7 separate regions of the Homo sapiens genome follow, and all the other regions are linked to region 2. Evidence: promoter capture Hi-C in 16 types of primary human blood cells and fetal thymus (Javierre and others, 2016). All regions are on one chromosome and are shown on one strand. Each heading gives the region's core, a stretch centred on a gene start or on the middle of the fragment in contact. The rest is flanking DNA. Distances are from core to core; before and after follow the strand shown. Region 1 holds the start of GJA3 (gap junction protein alpha 3). Region 2 holds the start of CRYL1 (crystallin lambda 1). Region 3 has its middle 13 kb from the start of LINC00367. Region 4 overlaps XPO4 (exportin 4). Region 5 overlaps XPO4 (exportin 4). Region 6 has its middle 8.7 kb from the start of XPO4. Region 7 holds the start of LOC107984553 (a long non-coding RNA gene).

The links. Contacts are between HindIII fragments. The CHiCAGO score rates a contact against its expected background, and 5 or more counts as called.
Region 1: the fragment with the promoter of GJA3 here is called in contact with the fragment with the promoter of CRYL1 in region 2 in 7 of 17 cell types (M0 macrophages, M2 macrophages, naive CD8 T cells and 4 more); the score reaches 12.5 in M0 macrophages.
Region 3: a contact is called between a fragment that was not itself captured here and the fragment with the promoter of CRYL1 in region 2, in 2 of 17 cell types (endothelial precursors and total CD8 T cells). The highest score is 8.3, in endothelial precursors.
Region 4: a contact is called between a fragment that was not itself captured here and the fragment with the promoter of CRYL1 in region 2, in 5 of 17 cell types (endothelial precursors, megakaryocytes, erythroblasts and 2 more). The highest score is 8.6, in endothelial precursors.
Region 5: a contact is called between a fragment that was not itself captured here and the fragment with the promoter of CRYL1 in region 2, in 2 of 17 cell types (naive B cells and M2 macrophages). The highest score is 6.0, in naive B cells.
Region 6: a fragment that was not itself captured here is called in contact with the fragment with the promoter of CRYL1 in region 2 in 3 of 17 cell types (endothelial precursors, naive CD8 T cells and erythroblasts); the score reaches 10.1 in endothelial precursors.
Region 7: a contact is called between a fragment that was not itself captured here and the fragment with the promoter of CRYL1 in region 2, in 4 of 17 cell types (M0 macrophages, M1 macrophages, naive CD4 T cells and 1 more). The highest score is 9.0, in M0 macrophages.

What each region holds. Positions count from the first base shown.
Region 1 is chr13:20,159,751-20,162,450 of GRCh38, forward strand. GJA3 (gap junction protein alpha 3) reads right to left here and starts at 1,302. Exons shown (of 2, transcript NM_021954.4): 1 at 1,140-1,302. RefSeq lists silencers at 1,033-1,122, 1,283-1,362, 1,593-1,952. The HindIII fragment of the contact is 22,819 bases long and covers 1-2,700 here.
Region 2 is chr13:20,524,508-20,527,207 of GRCh38, forward strand. CRYL1 (crystallin lambda 1) reads right to left here and starts at 1,350. Exons shown (of 8, transcript NM_015974.3): 1 at 1,247-1,350. The coding sequence starts at 1,287. RefSeq lists a silencer at 1,026-1,575 and an enhancer at 1,756-1,865. The HindIII fragment of the contact is 5,179 bases long and covers 1-2,297 here.
Region 3 is chr13:20,935,022-20,937,721 of GRCh38, forward strand. No RefSeq gene overlaps it. Among named protein-coding and RNA genes, the nearest start is that of LINC00367, 13 kb to the right of the region's middle. The HindIII fragment of the contact is 1,868 bases long and covers 492-2,359 here.
Region 4 is chr13:20,864,651-20,867,350 of GRCh38, forward strand. All of the region lies in intron 2 of XPO4 (exportin 4), which reads right to left. Among named protein-coding and RNA genes, the nearest start is that of XPO4, 37 kb to the right of the region's middle. The HindIII fragment of the contact is 5,438 bases long and covers 1-2,700 here.
Region 5 is chr13:20,785,322-20,788,021 of GRCh38, forward strand. It overlaps XPO4 (exportin 4), which reads right to left. Exons shown (of 23, transcript NM_022459.5): 21 at 2,160-2,277; 22 at 1,644-1,736. Among named protein-coding and RNA genes, the nearest start is that of EEF1AKMT1, 13 kb to the left of the region's middle. The HindIII fragment of the contact is 731 bases long and covers 940-1,670 here.
Region 6 is chr13:20,910,108-20,912,807 of GRCh38, forward strand. No RefSeq gene overlaps it. Among named protein-coding and RNA genes, the nearest start is that of XPO4, 8.7 kb to the left of the region's middle. The HindIII fragment of the contact is 3,898 bases long and covers 1-2,700 here.
Region 7 is chr13:20,183,591-20,186,290 of GRCh38, forward strand. It overlaps LOC107984553 (a long non-coding RNA gene), which reads right to left and starts at 2,601. Exons shown (of 3, transcript XR_001749956.2): 1 at 1,862-2,601. The HindIII fragment of the contact is 1,032 bases long and covers 897-1,928 here.

The sequences.
Region 1 (2,700 bases), core at 52-2,551, 360 kb before region 2:
TGCATTGCCCTTATGAGATGCTTATCTCGATATGAACCAAACTGCTGAGCAGGTGGAATCTGTGCCAAACTAGCTGATGTTTACTTTGAACACACTGATATTCGGAAAATAAATCCCTCTTTTTTCCTCTTTAATCTTTTAATGTTTGTCTTGCACATGGATGGACCGCCAGTGAAGTGATGCGCACATCATAAATCACCATGGTTTTTAATTCCTGGGTGATGAGACCCATAATTCGCTTGTCAGCTGTTTGTATAGAATCATTTTTAAATGGCATGTTTTGGAGACATCTTGATAAAATAAAAACTGGAGTTCTAAAGTTGCAGTCACATATTCACGAACCGAGAACTCTACATGGTAGGATGAATTTTGCTCACTAGTGTGGAGTCGGCAACAAAGCAAATGCAGCCGCGTCACTGCCGTTTGTTTTCTCAAGTCTCCTACGGGAAGGGGCTCGGACAGTGCTTTTCCACTCCTCTGCAAATTCCTTATAGTTGAACACATCATAACAAACATACAGGTCGAGAAATCTGGTCGTGGCATTAATAGCTACAGTGTTTCTTAAAAATAAAAAGTTTTAAAAAGTTTCTGAAAAAAATGTAGGCGAGCCAACCTTGTTTCTAAACAATCCCAACAGGACTTTTAGGAGCACGGCGATGCTGAATGCCCGTGGACGGCTGGGTGCGCGCCGTTAGCTGGCGCGGTGACATCTGCTTAGAGTTTTCAAGCATTTCAGCATCGCTAGGAGCCCTACAGCCTGACGGTCCGGGACAGCCCGGCTTCCTCCACCCGAGGGGGAAAACAACCCCAGGAAAACAACTTAAACTCGGCCTTGGACTGTCCATCAAGGGAAGCCAAACGAGGCGCTGCTCTCCAGACCTCCAGGAGCAAAGGAGGAAGATCAATTATTCCAAAAGTTTCTCACAAATTTCCCGAGCTCCCCACAACTTTTTGAAGAATCCTGAAAGAATCCTAGGGGGCTGGGAGCCGCACACGTGCCGGGGCTCGGCTTCCCAGCTCGGCAGTCTCAGCCCGCTGGGCTCGCCCGGCAGCTCCGCTGCGCCGCCGACCCGCCCGTCCCCGCCCCGCGCTGCCCTCGGCCCCTGTGCCTGGCCTCCGGGGCGCCCGGCCCGCCTTACCCCGCTCTGCCGCGGCGGCGACCCGGGTGCGTTCCTCCGGAGCAGGGCTCCCGGCCGCTCTGAAAAGAATTCCTTTCACACGTGCGGTGCTGCTTCACGCGTGCGCCCCGCGCCAGGGCCCGACCTCCCCGCCCTGATCGCCATCCCTGCAGCCCCAGTGTGCGCTGCGCCCGACGCCCCCAAGCTGCAGCTCAGGACGCCGCGCCACGCCCCCGCCGCCTCCGAACAGCCCCGCCCCGCGCGCTTCCCAGCACGCACACCTACCGCCCCCGCATCCCTACCCTGTACGCGCAGCCACAGCACTCGCCCGCGTCCGCATTCCACACCCTACCCCGCGCGCACGTCCATGCCTAGCGCCTGCATCCCCATCCCGCACCTGCGCGGGCCCTGGGGATGTGGACGCGGGGGCTCTTCCCTGCCGCCTACGCACTCCGGGGCATGCCCGCGCGGGACGTGAGAGGAGAGCCGAGGGCTGTTGGGGCGGGCCCGACCCGCTTGCGGGGCGCCCACCGCACGCAGATGCGCCAGCCCGCGCCCCGCTCGCGCCTGTCCTGGGCTTCGCAGGCCCGGCGAGGTAGCTGCTCTCCGGGCGCTCCCACGGTCGGAGGCGCGTGGGCGTCGGGCACCTAGGTCTCGCCCGCCTGCAGCCGCCTGGGGACGCGGGTTCCGGACGGCTGGCGCGGGGCGGGGCGGGGACCACCGAGCAGGAAGTCCCCGCGGAAGCGCCGCCGGGCACAGCGTGGGTGCTGTCGAGGAGTGGCGCCCGGGCGGGGCGGGAGGTTATAAATAGCGGCCGCCATCCTGCTTCTCTTCAGACACACTTAATTTAGCCGGCAGGCACACGGATGCTTATTTTTAAAAAAAGAACTTGTTTTATTGCGCTCGAGGTGACCGGGAAGGTGTCCCCGCGGGTCACTCGCTCCATCTGGTCCTGGAGACGAGATGCCAGGGCGAGGCCTAACCTGCCTGCTGGCGCCCAACGAAGATTTTAACGTTTTCTGTTCCCTTCGGGGTGGTTTTACCACGCTTGAGAGGGACGCCTACCGCGGAAGGCCGCGGACCGAGGGCGGCATCGCGTCCTTGTCTGCTGTCTGGGCACAGCCTAGAGAGGCCGCGGGTCCCCTCCCCGTCCCCCAAGGTCTGGAGTGGGGTTTGACCAGCCTGGGATATTAACAAATATCGGTGGACTGCATTTCGGTGATCATTCCACAAGCTGAAATGGCTTCAAAATCACCTTTATGAGTAATAAGTTTATTCCAGGAATGTGGCAAAATGCAAGTCTGATAGTTTTCGTGTCTTCATGGAGCAGCTTCCGTCGGCTGCCTTCGTTAGCGTTTAGATCTACTCGGATTAGCAGTTGGCTTGCCCTGAAAAATGCGTTTGTTCTGCTGAGATCTGAATTTAAAGTTATCCCAAGGAGGAAAAACTAAGCTCCTAAAGGCGCATCTAAAATATCTTCTCCCTTTGGGAACTTTGCGGTGTATGTATGGAGTAGGTAGTAGTTACGGAGACTTAGTTTTTAATTTTTAATTGAAAAATGCTACCTTTGAAGGTCTTAAAA
Region 2 (2,700 bases), core at 100-2,599:
GCTGGGACTACAGGCATGTGCCACTACGCCCGGCTAATTTTGTATTTTTAGTAGAGACGGAGTTTCTCCATATTGGTCAGGCTGGTCTCGAACTCCCGACCTCAGATGATCCGCCTGCCTCGGCCTCCCAACGTGCTGGGATTACAGGGGTGAGCCACCGCGCGCGGCCCAAAGTGCACTTTTTAATATGCCTTCACTATTCAACCACGGGCACTCATGGGCCAGAAAGAACAAAGGCACAGTTAACTCCACTGCTCTGGAGAAAAGAAAGCTGACAACAAGGAATCTGATGCCTTCCTTCAGTGGGAAGGAAACACCCTGACATTGGAAGTGGTCTCCACACCGGGTTGTACACTGATGGGGGGCGGAGTCGGGGGCAGGCCAACACCTCAACAGCAGTCACCAAAAAGGTGCTTTTAACTATCAATAGCAAGTATTAACATGTTTATAGATTGCTGCTAACAGCTGGCCAAAGAAAGGTACATACAAATGCCCCTTTTTAAAAAACAAAAATAGCAAGGATTGTAACCGTAGGGGTGGGGGGCGGGGTGGGGGAAGCACACACTAAAAATCAGTTTGGGCAGAATTTAAGCTGTTAAATGGACACACTTAGCAAACTCTCTGGGCTCCATCGGCCCCCACCTCCCCTCTGGAAACATCGCCTCGCCCAGGAATTAGGACTGCGTGTATGTTCGCCTAACACCTGCTGCGGCCTCCAGCGACATCGTCGCCGACAGGACTGCGCTGGCACCCTCCCTGCTGGGCTAGTCCTGTCTCCGTCACTAAACGCCTGTGACCTTAGGTAAACTGCTTAGTCTCAGTATTCTCATTCGTAAAATGGGGATGAGAACACAGTCGTCGCAGGATCGCAGCCAGAATTCGTTTCATTCAACACGGTGCCTGGCACTTCTATGTGGACCTGCGGGCAGACGCGGCGACATTCAACAGAGTCCAGGAACCGCAGGCCCCGCGGCCTGGGCGGTCAACCTCGGAACCTCCTGCAACGCTGGCTCCCGGGAAGCAGACCCAACTCCGCGGGGCGCCTCCACCTGCCAAGCCCCTCCAGCCGCGCCTCTCCCCGAGCCCGCCAGCGCCGTAGGGGCCGCAGGGCGCAGGGCTTCGGAGGACCGGAGGCCGGGGCGGGGACAGCGACCCGGCGCCCACCCCGAGGGCCCCACGCGAGGGCACCACGTCCCCGGCGTCTCCCCGGGCTCCAGGGGCAGCAGCGCGGCTCGGAGCCCTTTACCTGCCAACGATCACCACGCAGCCGGCCGCGGAGGACGCCATGGTTGGGCCGGGGACGCGGCGCCGCGGGCGCTGGGACCAGGCGCCGGCGGAGCTGCGAGCTCTGGGCTCCGGGGAGGGCGGGTCCCGCGCCCATTGGCTGCGCGCGCGGACCGGGAGGGCGGGGAGGGCCGCTTGGTCCCTGAGTGGGGTGCGCGCCGCGGGCCCGAGACACCGGGAGACACACGGCGCGCCGACCCTCGTGGGCAGGGGCAGGACCAGCGCGGGGGCACGTCGGGGGGTGGAAAGCGGGAAGACCACGCGCTTGTGACTGTCAGCATTCACCGTGAAGTCCGTGTCTATAGGAGGGGACACGGGCAGGCTGGCACGGGCTCTAGCGCTAAAGCACCCTAGAGAAACTGTCAGAGAATGTCCCCTTTGCTAATTCGTCTCTGAAAGACGCCTGCCGCTGCCGCCAACTGCGAACTGGGCGCAGGGACTGCGACAGCAGTGAAAGAGAACACCTGATGCGTTCATCTGCGCTACGGAAGGACACGTCTGAATTCCTCCACGGAGCACACTCTGCACTCGGTTTATGTATCAGAAAAAGGAAATGCCCTCGTGCCCTGACTCCTGGCCTTCTTGGAGCCCGGAACAGACCAAGAGGAAGGGGCATCACACATTGCCTGACAGTGGTGTGCGTCCACACAGCACAAGCTGAACGGGAAATGACACAGTCATTAGACAGAGGAGACAGTACTCAAGCTGGAACCGCAGCCAACACTGAGATGATAAAAGGAAGTCTTCCTTTGTTTCCCCTGAGTCAGGAACGTGGAAAGAGAAATCTCAGGGGAGGGGTTAGGTTTTTTTGTTTTGTTTTGTTTTTTAAAGAACAGTTTCACAAATTATCGATAAATATTTGTAAAGTATTCAACCTCAAGAGAAATGAAAAGTAACACAAGGAAGATAAGTCATCTCTCACTCATCAGATTGGCTAAGTCACATGGATTGATTATATTCCCATATCCGTAATGGAGTGTTTCGGACATGCAACTTACACACAGTAGAAGGCAAGCTTAAATGTTGAGGACTTTTTGGAGGGAATGTTACAGTACATTGTTGAGACAGCCGCTAGCCTGAGCAACCGCGCCTGCTCTGGCTGAGAATACAAGGCTCCAAAGCTTCCATCTTCTGATGGAGCAGTTTCTGTAGTCAGTTACACAGGCAGCCAATATAATAATCAAGGCACCCAGGGAGTGAGCATCCTGTGACTGCTCACTACCGGAGGCTATGGGGGCAGCAGACTGGCTTGTTTGCTGCTCCCTGCAAAGTCATGCCTGAAATCCCAGCGCTTTGGGAAGCTGAGTAGTAAATAATAGCTTGAGGCCAGGAGTTCAAGACCAGCCTGGGCAACAAAGCGAGACCCCTGTCTCTACCAAAAAATTAAAAAACTTATCCAGGCTGGTGCCGCCTGTA
Region 3 (2,700 bases), core at 176-2,675, 410 kb after region 2:
AAAGTACCCCTTTCCAGTGGACTGTGCAGAGGGGAAATAAACAAACAAACAAAACCCAAACTACCCTTTCCCATTGCGTAGCCAGTCCACTGAAGACATTTTGTTGCAGATTCTTTAACCTTCAATGCAATTTGCACTAGTGCCTTATCATCTGCAGTAGGGGATGGAGGTGTCAGCTTCACTTTTCCGTCTTTCCTGACATTTCTGGTATTGGAGAAAGAAAAAAAAAAACCATGGAAAGGGAAATAATAGGCACTGGGGGACTCCAAAGGGGGAGAGGATGGGAGGGATTTCATGTTGAAAAATGACCTATTGCATAGAAGATTCATTATTTTAGTGATGGGTGCACTAGAAACTCAAACCTCACCATTCCACGTTATATCCATGTAACAAACATGCACATGTATGCCCTGAATAATGATAATAAGAGCATGGGAGACAGAGGTCTTATGTGACTGCCTGCCAACTGCACATCCAAGATCCAGACTTGAAGCTTATAAATATGTATAAAATGTTGGGCTCAGGAGTGGTGGCTCACGCCTATAATCTCAGCACTTTGGGAGGTGAAGGCAAGCGGATCACTTGAGGCCAGGAGTTGGAGGCCAGCCCAGGCAATGTAGCAAGAGCCTGTCTCTACAAAACCTAAAAAAAATTAGCTGGACTTTATGGCATGCACCTGTAGTCCCCAGCTACTGGGGAGGCTGAGGCAAGAGGATCACTTGAGCCTGGGAGTTTGAGGTTACAGTGAGCTATGACTGTGCCACCACACTCCAGCCTAGGCAAGAGAGTGAAAAAGGGCCGGGCGTGGTGGCTCACACCTGTAATCCCAGCACTTTGGGAGGCCGAGGCAGGTGGATCACGAGGTCAGGAGATCGAGACCATCCTGGCTAACATGGTGAAACCCCGTCTCTACTAAAAATACAAAAAATTAGCCGGGCGTGGTGGAGGGCACCTGTAGTCCCAGCTACTCAGGAGGCTGAGGCAGAAGAATGGTGTGAACCTGGGATGAGGAGCTTGCGGTGAGCCGAGATCGTGCCACTGCACTCCAGCCTGGGCAACAGAGCAAGACTCTTGTCTAAAAAAAAATAGAGAGAGTGAAAAAAATAGCCAGGTACAGTGGCTCATGCCTGTAATTTCAGCACTTTGGGAGGCCGAGGCAGGAGAATCACTTGAGGCTAGGAGGTGGAGGCCACATTGACCTATGATCGCATCACTGCACTACAGCATGGGCAGCAGAGTGATACCTTGTCTCAAAAAAAAAAAAAAAAAAAAAAAAAAAGGCCGGGCATGGTGGCTCACACCTGTAATCCCAGCATTTTGGGAGGCTGAGGCGGAAGGATCATTTGAGGTTAGGAGTTCGAAACCAGCCTGGCCAACATGGTGAAACCCTATTTCTACTAAAAATACAAAAAAAAAATTACCCAGGCGTGGTGGTGGGTGCCTGTAATCCCAGCTACTTGGGAGGCTGAGGCAGGAGAATTGCTTGAGCCCGGGAGGCAGAGGTTGCAGTTAGCTGAGATCGCACAACCATTGCACTCCAGCCTGGGTGACAGAGCAAGACTTAGTCTCAAAAAAATGTTGGACACCTTTGAGTATTAACATAGATTATCCAGGTGAAGGGCACTGAGCTTAAACTTCATCACCTCATGGTAAGTTCCCTGTGCAAAGCTGGCAGCAAGGTTCTTGTGAGTGTCCCTGCCTCTGTGGCTAATGCTAACTGACATGGGCTATGTGAGGCGACCCCTCAAATACTGGAACTTCCATAGGTGCATGTGGAGGGGCTTTTGGGAGGGTTCTGGGAGGAGTGGATCTGCCCGACATGGGTAAGCTGCCTCCATTCCCACTGTCTTCACGGTCACTCAACTGACACGCTCTTACTCACTCCCTGTTCTTCATCTCTTCCAAGGTTTCTTCCCCTGCTTGGGGGACACAGTTGTCCTAATCAACAGCTGAGGCTGAGCCCAAGTCCAACCAGGAGACAGAAGAGTTTCTGTTGGCTGGGGAGGTGAGAAGGCTGGAGAGCTGATTGCGGATCTTGCCTTTCTCGGAAAGCCCAGAGGGGTCTCTAAGGTTCCCAGACACTTCACATTTTTTGTCCAGGGCTTTTGGTTTCAGCTGCAATTCTGGAACATGGGAAAAAAGAAAATCCACATAACATTCTGTTGTACATTTATTCAAAATACAGAAAAGAAATATTTAAAGAATAAAATAAAGATAACATTCACAAGAGGAACCATGAAATTAACCCTCTCCTGGGAGTATACACTGGAAATCAATTTGGAAATATATAACAAGAGCATTAAAAATGTTCTTAAGAATATAATTAAAGATGCAGAAAAAGATTATGTACTCATGATAAAGCTTATACAAGGAAAAGAAAAAGATCATGTATAAAGATATGCAATATGATGTTATTTACAAGGTATATTTACATTTTAAATTATTTAAAATAGGAAATAACCTAAATTTCCAATAACAAGTAAATGGTTAATTAATTTGGGCTATATCATCATAATGGAATATCATATAGCCATTCAAAGCCATTGTTTTATGAGTTTTAGTGACAGGGAAAATGATTACTATAGGTGTCTGTTCACTGTGTTTTCAAAGTGTCCTAAATTTTCTTTTTTTTTTTTTTTTTGAGACGGAGTCTCGATCTGTTGCCCAGGCTGGAGTGCAGTGGCGTGATCTCGACTCACT
Region 4 (2,700 bases), core at 127-2,626, 340 kb after region 2:
TCACTGAAACATTCCTAACTATTTGTTTTTACATCCAAGCCTTTTTCTGCCCTTTGGAGGTGGGTGGGTGTTGGATGTGAGGGGGCAGTTATAGAAGATGAATATTCAAAATTTTCAAGACACAAAAGTTTCTTAATTCTTTTTCTTAGACCTCTGCATGGTATTAAATGATGATCTCTAAATGACTACTCCCATAAGAAGCTGACTCTAAGAATGGAGGAATAAAAAAAAAAAAAGCCAAATTCCTAATTTAAAAGAAGAAATTTTCCTAAACTAATAAATTACCCTTTCTCATAAAAACCATTATTAGCTGTCATAAATTTAACTTATACATAGTAGAAATATGCAAGAGATGCTAGAAGGTACTCTCGAAGCCTACCAGTATGAAATTAGAACTTCACAAATACATATGAGCTTTACTTTCGCTCTCTGTTACAAAGATGCCTGAAACTACAGGGTTTTCATGAAGAACTCACAATTCATCTAGCATTTTTTTTTTTTTTTTGAGATGGAGTTTTGCTCTTGTTACTGAGACTAGAATGCAATGGCGCAATCTCGGCTCACCACAACCTCTGCCTCCCGGGTTCAAGTGATTCTCCTGCCTCAGCCTCCCGAGTAGCTGGGAATACAGGCATGTGCCACCACACCGGCTAATTTTGTATTTTTAGTAGAGACAGGGTTTTTCCATGTTGGTCAGGTTGGTCTCAAACTCCCAACCTCAAGTGATCCACCCACCTCAGCCTCCCAAAGTGCTGGGATTACAGGTGTGAGCCACCACACCCAGCCTCATCTAGAATTTCTAAACTACTTCTGGGAAGATCTGCCACTGACTAGGACACTGTCCAGAGAATAAATTATTTTAGGTCACTTTAGCAAAATGCTTTCATCTGCTACCACAGTAACTTTCTTTAATAATAATTATGTAAATAAAATTCATTTGAATTTTGTCAGCCATCTGAAACTAAACAGAAACATGAAGACAAAAGTTAAAGTTAATAATACAGGAAAAGCACTACATTCTGACCAAAAAGTTTTTTTAAAAAAGAAAAAACCCCGGTAGTGAAGCCACAGATATACAGCTACTACAATCAACTCTCTGGCCTTAAGTATTTCTGTCCAAAGCACAGGCAATATAAGCTCCAAGTCTACTCTTTGACTCAGTGATACCTATGCCCACCAACTAATGACAAAAAGTCTCAGATGGAAGATGATTTATTAATTCCCAGTGACTGACAGCACTACTAAGGAAACAATTTTCCAGAGGTGTAAAAGTTTACTAGTTTAACTGACTTTTTGGTGGTTTATTATTTTGTTTTGTTTTGGCACTTGTGAGATCAGAAGTGAAAGAAATCCATTTCTCCCTGAGAAAGAGTAAAAGAATGCCACAAAGTTAGCTCCAGAAGAAGTAAGCCAATCCCTCACAGTTCTTGATTATTTCTTTAACAAGAACAGAACTCACTTGTTTTTTTAAAGGAACATTTGATCCTAAAAAATTTAAATTACTAAGTGCCAAAGACTTCTGAAGTGAAGAAGTCTAAAAGTGCTCTTCTGACAAAATGCACAAGCATGCCACATGCATGCACAGATACACCACACACACACACAGAAAAGAGCAAAGAAAATAAAAACTAGAATGAAAACAAAAGGATAAGAAGAGAAAGAAATGAGGAAAAATGAGCAACATATAAAACTCAAGTTAGAAGTGAGAAGGAAGAATTTTAAGAGGCCAGAAAAGGGAAGCATCAAAGAAAGTCTCCCCTTTAGTAGAATATATTACCCAGACCTTCTATAAAAATGACACATAATCCCTAAACAAGAATGTGAAAATTCTGAACTGCGATTGACTGCCACTTGTATGAGAAGTCTTCTTAGAGGAATTTACCCTTCTGTGCTGGTGGCAACTGAATAAGGAGTGAAAAGATTTTCTGTGAAGTTTAGATGTAAACATTAATGTAACACAGGGCTTTGCAGTACATTAATGATTATGCTTGTAATACATGCACTCCACCTTTTAAATAGTCAGTGTCTCAAAACCCAAACTCATTTTAAAAGCATGGCCAGAACTAGCAATACTACTCTTTAGAAAATTTTATCAGGAAAACAAAAGTATTCCAAAACAAGCTCAATCATAACAAAGCAACAATACTTCATAAAATATACATATTCTAAAAAGGAAAGAATGGTATAAACAAATACACTCTAATAAAATACTTGTAAGTTAGATCAACTATTTCCCAACTAGTGTACAATGACACTGAATTCCAATAGAAAGTCAGATGAAACACTGATGGAATCCTAGTCAATGTCGTTAAGGCATATGCCATGAAAACCAGACTCAAATTATTTTAGGTTAATAGTTTAACACAACGGTTTTCTAAATCTATTAATGCTGAACAATTTCAAGGCAGTAAGGATGAATTAATGCTTCCTTAAACTCTTTATGCCGTTTAGTTTTGCTTCCTTTAACATTGAGTTAAATATCCTCCACAGGTATATGTTAAATCTTCTTAGTGCCAGAAACGAATCCACACAACTATAAAAGCTGACCACTGAAATAAGTAAATTAATTAAAATGGCTTCAGTGAGAATTTAAAAGGTAGTTGTTGAACCTGTTCCTCTGCTAAGACCTAACTCCTAAATGAGACAGAGCCACCTTCACCACTGCTGCTAGTTCCTTGCAAACACAGAACACAGCATTTT
Region 5 (2,700 bases), core at 55-2,554, 260 kb after region 2:
CAGTCCTGTTCACAGGGGACCAAGTATAATCTCCTATCATTTCCCTACTCATGAGAAATGGTAGAGGTGGCAAGGCATGGTGGCTCACACCTGTAATCCTAGGCACTTTGGGAGGCCGAGGCGAGTGGATTGCTTAAGTTCAGGAGTTCGATACAAGCCTGGGCAACATGGTGAAACTCCGTCTCTACAAAAAATAAGCCAGGTGTGGTGGTGCACACCTGTAGTCCCAGCTACTTGGGGAGCTGAGGCGGGAGGATTGCTTGAGGCCAGGAGGCCGAGGCAGGAGTTAGCAGTAATTGCACCACTGCACTCCAGCCTGGGTAATAATAAAGTGAGACCCTGTCTCAGAAAAAAAAAAAAAGCGAGATAGTAGAGCCTCTGGGGCCAGGCAGCAAGTATCATACTGGCCATTCCTGAAACCTGCTCTTTCCTGCAGTGTGTAAATATGTTAAAAGAGAGGGAGAGAGAGAAATAAAGGAAGAGAAGGAAGGAAGGAAGAAAGGAAGGGAGGAAGAGACAAGAGGGTGGAAGGGAACGGGGGAGGAAAGGAGGGAGGGAGGGAGGGAGAAAGAAAGAAAGAGGAGGGAGGAAGGAAGGAAGAAAGGAAAGAAAAGAAAAATGAAAGAAAAAGATAGAAAAAAGAAAAGAAAAAGAGAGGAAGGAAGGAAGGAAGGAAGGAAGGAAGGAAGGAAGGATCAGACAAGACGACTACCTTGCTAGTAAGCAACAAGTAAGACAAATGACAGAGAAAGGGCACAGATTTGAGAGCAGGTACCACCTGCAGGAAGTGGCAGCCTAGGGCAGAGAGCAAGAAATGAAGCCCCAGGGCACCTTCAGCTTAGGGCACAGATGTTACGGGAAGTCTAGAGAAAGGAGGTCTTTAAATAGTATGGAAGACCTCCTCTAAACCCTTTTTTAAAGATGGAAATAAAACGCCAAAGCTTCTTGGCCATGCTGGGAGGTATATATATATATACGTGTGTGTGTATATATATATATATATATATGTACCTTACATATATATGTGTGTATATATATGCATGGGAGAGGAAAAGGGGAAACAGAGGCAGCAAACTGTTCAATACGGTCCTTTTCATAAATTTCACAGGCACCTATTCGATCAGAAGTGGGGAGACAGGTAAGCTAGCCTAACTCTTCTATTAACCCCATTATCAGTGATGCTTCAGAATCTTTAAAAGATCAACAAAATGAAATAATATACTGTTTTCTATAATATGCAATAAAATACTGTCTTCCATACTGTCTGAAGGCAGACTCTTCCTTGTCTGCCATCCTGTCTCCCTTACAAAAAACCATGAGTTCTTCACACACCCATTATGTATTCCTCATTCCTAGCACAGTTGTTTAAGGACAGGCTTTGGGGCAGTGACCATTGCAAAGGATGGTTCATAATGGTGGAGGACAAAAAATAAATGCTTTGAACTGACAAACAGCTGTCAGATAAACACAAACTGACATGTGAAAGCTAATAAAGAAGCTAAGAAATACTTCCTCACTGAAACAGAACTGAAGCACTGAGTCACAGATCCTATAAGGGGGGATTAATGACCCACCATCTATCTCAACAATCTCTTTGCAAAATAGAATGAGAAGAGTCCCCTGAAAAGAGGCATGTCCAGTACCTGGTGCAAACACACCAACGTGTAGAAAGCTTCGCCAGCCGCAGTGGTCATCTCTGTGTTGTGCTTTTGCAAAACCAGCATATCAAAAACCAGCTGAAATTACATAAGACTTCTAAATAAAAACATAGGATGATCATATATCCTCCAGTCCCTCCCCAGTCCAAAAAAGAAGAAGAGAGGGTTGGTTGTTATTCTATTTATTAAATCAATCTGAAATTTTCCTTAATGTTTTAAAAAAAATACCTTACAGATATTGCTACTTGCTGTGGTATCTGAATAATCAACAATATCAAATTCCCTCAATGTGTACCACATCAATTTCCAAGAACACAAAAAATAGAGGATGAGAATGTGTCCATGAAGAGCTGATCTCCAGAAAAAAACAGTGAACAGGAAGTCATGGTTTCCTTGCCCCCGAAAGAATGGAAGCATTTCCTCATTTGAATGCAGAATTATGTGCACCGACCACACTTTTGAAAGTAGCTGATTTTCTGACCTACCGCACAGACATCTTACCTTAAGAAAGTGCCGTGTTGCTAGAAAAAGTGGTGAGTCTGTTTCTTGTGCTTTTGCACACTGTTCAGCTAACGGTGTCAAGGCCTCCAGGCAAAGCTGGCAAACCTCCGAACTCATTCTGATCATGAAGGTCAAAGAACAAACTAGATTGGATATATTCGATTTATAAAAGATAAAAAAATTATAGCTAGTATTAAATGGATGAGTGTTTCTAGAAATGAATACAGATACACAAGTAGACTCATGGGCAATATCTTCACTGAGTTATATAAGGAAAGAAGATTTCCAGTGTTTTTCAGATTGCCTATAAGGTTTTTGGGTTTGAGCCTGGTGATGTATAGCTTGTTTCAGTTTACGATACATACAACTTATTAAAAAGTCATATTATTCTCTACAATCAGAGCTAAGACCAGAGACCCAGCTCAACATTACTAATGGGACCCTGATGAAGGGGTAACTTCTGGAACCAGGGACTGAATGCCTCAGAGATCTATGAAAGGAGGACAGGACGAGGCAAACTAACGAAAGAAACACAGAAATA
Region 6 (2,700 bases), core at 161-2,660, 390 kb after region 2:
CTGTTGCCCAGGCTGGAGTGCAGTGGCGCGATCTCGGCTTACTACAAGCTCCACCTCCCAGGTTCACGCCATTCTCCTGCCTGAGCCTCCTGAGTAGCTGGGCCTACAGGCACCCGCCACCATGTCCAGTTAATTTTTTGTATTTTTAGTAGAGATGGGGTTTCACCATGTTAGCCAGGATGGTCTTGATCTCTGACCTCGTGATCTGCCTGCCTCTGCCTCCCAAAGTGCTGGGATTACAGGCGCGAGCCACCGCACCCGGTGGAAATGGGATTTGAAATCACACAATTTCTTTTCTAATCATGGTGAAATAAAACTAGAAATTAATGGCATAAGGAAAATGGAAAATTAGTACATATGTGGAAATTAAACAACACACTGTAACTTTTTTTTCTATTTTTTCCCCTTTTTTTTGCTTTTTTTTTATTTTTTATTTTTTTTTTATTGGGCAGTCCCTGGCCGGGCATGGTGGCTCACACCTGTAATCCCAGCACTTTGGGAGGCCGAGATGGGCAGATCACTTGAGGTCAGGAGTTTGAGACCAGCCTGGCCAACATGGTGAAAACTCATCTCTACTAAAAATACAAAAAAAGTTAGCTGGGCACGTTGGCGCGGGCCTGTAGTCCCAGCTACTCCAGAGGCTGAGGCAGGAGAATCGCTTGAACCCGGGAGGCAGAGGTTGCAGTGAGCTGAGATCGCACCACTGCACTCTAGCCTGGGCAACAGGGCAAGACTCCATCTCAAAAAAAAAAAAAAAGAAAAAACTTGGGCAGCCCCCAAACAAGAATAGACTCTGAGAGACTCCCAAATGACACACTTTTAAACAACCAAAGAGTCAAAGAAGAAATCACAAGGGAAATTAGAAAATATCCTGAGATAAATCAAAATAAAAACACAACATACCAAAAGTTATGGGATGCAGCAAAAGCAATACTAAGAGGAAATTTATTTATAAATGTTGGGAGCCGAAAAGACCAAAGGGATCGTGACCAACTCAGCATTCCACTGGAGGCTATATGATCAAACAGCCAACTGTTTATCATGAATGCAGGATGTGGGCAGACTCAGCGACTGTGCCTACCGCCAGAAGGTTTGCTGAGGGCAATCACTCCCTGGTGCTGTGCTCATTGAGGTTATCTACTGGGACATCTAGAGCTTATTGTTTGAAGAATGCAGTCTTGCAAGCCAGCTGTAAATCAAGCTGCTGACCAACCACTGCCTCCTCCCTGTGTCCTTTACTCAATAAAATGCGAAGGGCTCTAAAGCTCAGGGCCCTTGTTCACTAGAAGCAAGGACCGCCTCCTCCCAACCCCTTCTTCCAAATATACTCTTTTGCCTTTATCTTTATTCCCAAGTTCGTCATCCTTTGTTCAGTCCAACAGGGATAGGGTCCACAGCAACAACAAACACATTTAAAAAGAAGAAAGTTGTCAAGTCAACAACCTAACATTATACCTTAAGGAACTAGAAGAAGAAGAACAAACTAAACCTAAAGCTAGCAGAAGGAAAAAAATAAACATTAAGCAGAGATAAATGAAATCGAGAATGGGAACCAATAGAGAGAATCAATAAAACCAAGAATTTGTTCTTTGAAAGGATCAACAAAATTGACAAACTTAACTAGATTAAGAATAAAAAAGAGATAGGCTGGGTGGGCGTGGTGGCTCATGTCCGTAATCCGAGCACTTTGGTAGGCTGAGGCAGGAGTTTGAGACCAGCCTGACCAACATAGTGGCCAAATCCCATTTCTACCGAAAATACAAAATTAGCTGGGTGTGGTGGCAGGTGCCTGTAGTCCCAGCTACTCGGGAGGCTGAGGTGGGAGAATCGCTTGGACTCGGGAGGCAGAGGTTACAGTGAGCCGAGACTGCGACATTGCACTCCAGCCTGGGTGACAGAGTGAGACACCATCTCAAAAAAATAAATAAATAAAAATAAAAGAGAGAACCCCGCTAGGCATGGTGGCGCACAGCTGTAATCCCAGCAGTTTGGGAGGCCAAGGTGAGAAGATTGCTTGAGCCCAGGAGTTAGAGATCAGCCTGAGCAACATGGTGAAATCCCATCTCTACAAAAAATACAAAATTTAGCCAGGCATGCTGATGTGTGCCTGTAGTTCCAGCTACTGAAGAGGCTGAGGCAGGAGAATCGCTTGAGCCCAGGAGGCAGAGGTTGCAGTGATCTGAGATCATGCTACTGTACTCAAGCCTGAGTGACACAGCAAGACCTTGTGTCAAAAAAAAAAAAAAAAAAAAAAAAAAAGAAGGCTGGGCCTGGTGGCTCACGCCTGTAATCCCAGCACTTTGGGAGGCCAAGGCAGCTGGCTCACGAGGTCAGGAGATCGAGACCATCCTGGCTAACATGGTGAAACCCCGACTCTACTAAAAATACAAAAAAATTAGCCAGGTGCAGTGTTGGGCACCTGTAGTCCCAGCTACTCGGGAGGCTGAGGCAGGAGAATGGCGTGAACCCAGGAGGCAGAGCTTGCAGTGAGCCAAGATCATGCCACTGTACTGGAGCCTGGGAGACAGAATGAGACTCTGTCTCAAAAAAAAAAGAAAGAAAGAAAGGAGAGGCTGAGTGCAGTGGCTCATGCCTATAATCCTAGCACTTTGGGAGGCCGATGCGGGCAGATCACTTGAGGTCAGGTGTTCAAGACCAGCCTGGCCAAAATGGTGAAACCCCGTCTGTACTAAAAATACA
Region 7 (2,700 bases), core at 163-2,662, 340 kb before region 2:
CTGACTGCAACCTCCACGTCCTGGATTCAAGAGATTCTCCTGCCTCAGTCTCCCAAGTAGCTGGGACCACAGGCATGCACCACCATGCCTGGCTAACTTTTGTATTTTTTTAGTAGAGAAGGGGTTTCACCATGTTGGCCAGGCTGGTCTCAAACCCCTAACCTCAAGTGATCCATCCACCTCGGCCTCCCAAAATGCTGGGATTACAGGCGTGAGCCACCACACCTGGCCAGACCTAGAAGGATTTCTAAGACATATTACTAAATGGGAAACAATCATAGAAAAAATGATGTAAGAAATGCAAACCAACATGGTCACGTATGTGTTGTGTGTCTATGTATATAAGTATGAGTATATTCAATTGCACAGGGGAAAAGTCTGGAAGGATATAATCCAGATGTTAACACTGAAACTTCCAAGCAGGGGAGTGAAATGAGACTTTCACTTTTGACTTCGTATACTCCTGTATTATTTAAGTGAAAATGTATTTATATATTCTATAATTACAAAAATCACATTGGTTGCCTTTTCATTTTGAAATGAGCAAAAGTGACAGGGCTGTTAAAAAGCTAAGTCACTTGAGCAATAACGTGATGTCCAGAACAGTGGTTCCATGGCTCAGCCATGTCGGGGGCTGCACTGAGGACAGGGGGCCATCTGCCTTCTAGGAGGACACTGTGGACTGGAATATTGTTCCTGCCTTGAGGAGGAGTCTCCCAGCACAGTTACTGCTGCTTGACTGTCAGAGCATGCGTTTTCTTAGGGAAGTTGAAGGCAGCCTGTATCTAGTAAGGTGGTATGCAGTAGTTGCTTAATGCTGAATGTGTGAAGGAATGTGGGGCTGTGGAGCAGGAGGATAAAGTCTGAACTTGGACCTGTTGTTCTCAGCTATTCGAAGCTTTCTCAAGTGGAAAATAGACTGACTTTGGGTCCATCAGAGGGCAGAACAAATGCTGGAGAGCAGATGCTAGAATTCCGTCTTAAAACCATGAATCCTTACAGCGGCCTGCGTGGCCTGCGCCATCTGTCCCAGCCACGCCCTCCTTGGCCCCATCTCCCCCTTTCTCGCCCTGACTCTTTGGCATCCTGGCCTTTCCGTCTCACTGGGATGCTTCCCTAAGAGACTCGTGTGGTTTGCTGCCCTGTATCCTCCGGATCTCCTGACCACCCTATGTTAGTTACATTGCAATTTCCCGTTTCCCTCATGACGTCTTATTTTCCTCCATTTAAATTACCTGCAGCAGGTACCACCTACAGGGATCTGTTGAGAGTCGGCCTCCTTCAATGTGAAGCCTGATGTTTTGTTCTGTTCACAGCTATGCCCCCAGCCCCTAACAGTTGGTGGCAGTCAGTAAATATTGCCTGGGAAAACGAATCATTAGCCATGTGCAGAAATGGAACAGCGTCTCACCAAGTTGGGGTTGCCCCTGGACCCTGTGAACACTGGGGCAGCTGGGGTGTTCCTACTGTGCTTGTTACCGGCTTCAGGAATCAAATGCACTAGAGAATTGTAGAAGTGCGGTCCACATCCTCTGTGTGGTAGGACCAGCTGCTGTTGGCCTCTGAGCAGGATCTCTTACCTCTCTGAGCAGTGCCTTCCTGTTGCCCTCAGCAAGAATAACACTAACAGCCTAGGACTTCAGAGCACTGCTGCGAGGTGCAAATGAGGTGATATGGGAAAAGCATTTGGTGAGATGTATGGAAAGTGTAGAGACCCTGACCAGATGAGTCAATGGCCTTCTTCGTTACTCTGTTGACCTTTCTTTAATTACAGAGTCGCATAGCTGTCACCACCTTATCCTTTTTTGCTGCTATATTTGCCCCCAGCCATTCCTCTCCCGGCTTATGTGGCTAGACTCACCTGCCTGTGCTGCAGTTACTCCAGGCTTTGTGTAAATGTGCATTTTTTTCCAGCCCCCAGTTTATCAAGCTTTGCTTGAGTCACTTGTATCTGAAATACCATCTGTCACTCTTCCAGGTTGGGATCTGTCTAGTGGAAAACAGATGACAGTCATATGTTACTTAGTGCTTTACTATGTGGAGAACGTTTACATAAATTATCTTATTTCATTGCCACTAAGCCGGGGAAAGATTCAGGAAACCCATTTTAAGATGAGGACACTGAGGTCAGGGTAAGTGAGTGAGCTTTTACCCACCTCTCAGCTGCTCTCTAGTTGTCAAAGACCAACCCGTGGGGGTGGCTCAGGCCCGACCCCTGCAGCATATTCCTTGGGGCCTCCCAAGTGGGCCCGATCTGCTCACCCCAGCTGTGACTGTCTTTTGACAGGAGGAGGGAGCAGCGAGGCTGCACCCACTGCTCATAAAAAGCAGAGCTTGTCCACGCCGAGGGCTCGGCTGGGTGGGAGGCCGCTTCCACAAGGCTTTTTCTTGCTCCATACAAAGTGCAGACTGATGCTTTGAGATATAGTCAGGATTATCATTTTCAGAGCTCAAGCTCTAATTTCCAGGCATGTGACCAGACCTCTCTATCCATTCCTACAAGTGGTCGAGAGTAGCCCATAATTATTTTGGCTTGGTCTTTTAATAGCTTGAGAGTAATAATCTACATAGCTTGTAGAAGTGAATGTACTTATTTTAAAAGTTCTGTGTTTTTTGATGTTGTTGTTGTTTGGGACAGGATCTTGCTGTCGCCTAGGCTGGAGTGCAGTGGCACAATCTCAGCTCACTGCAGCATGGACC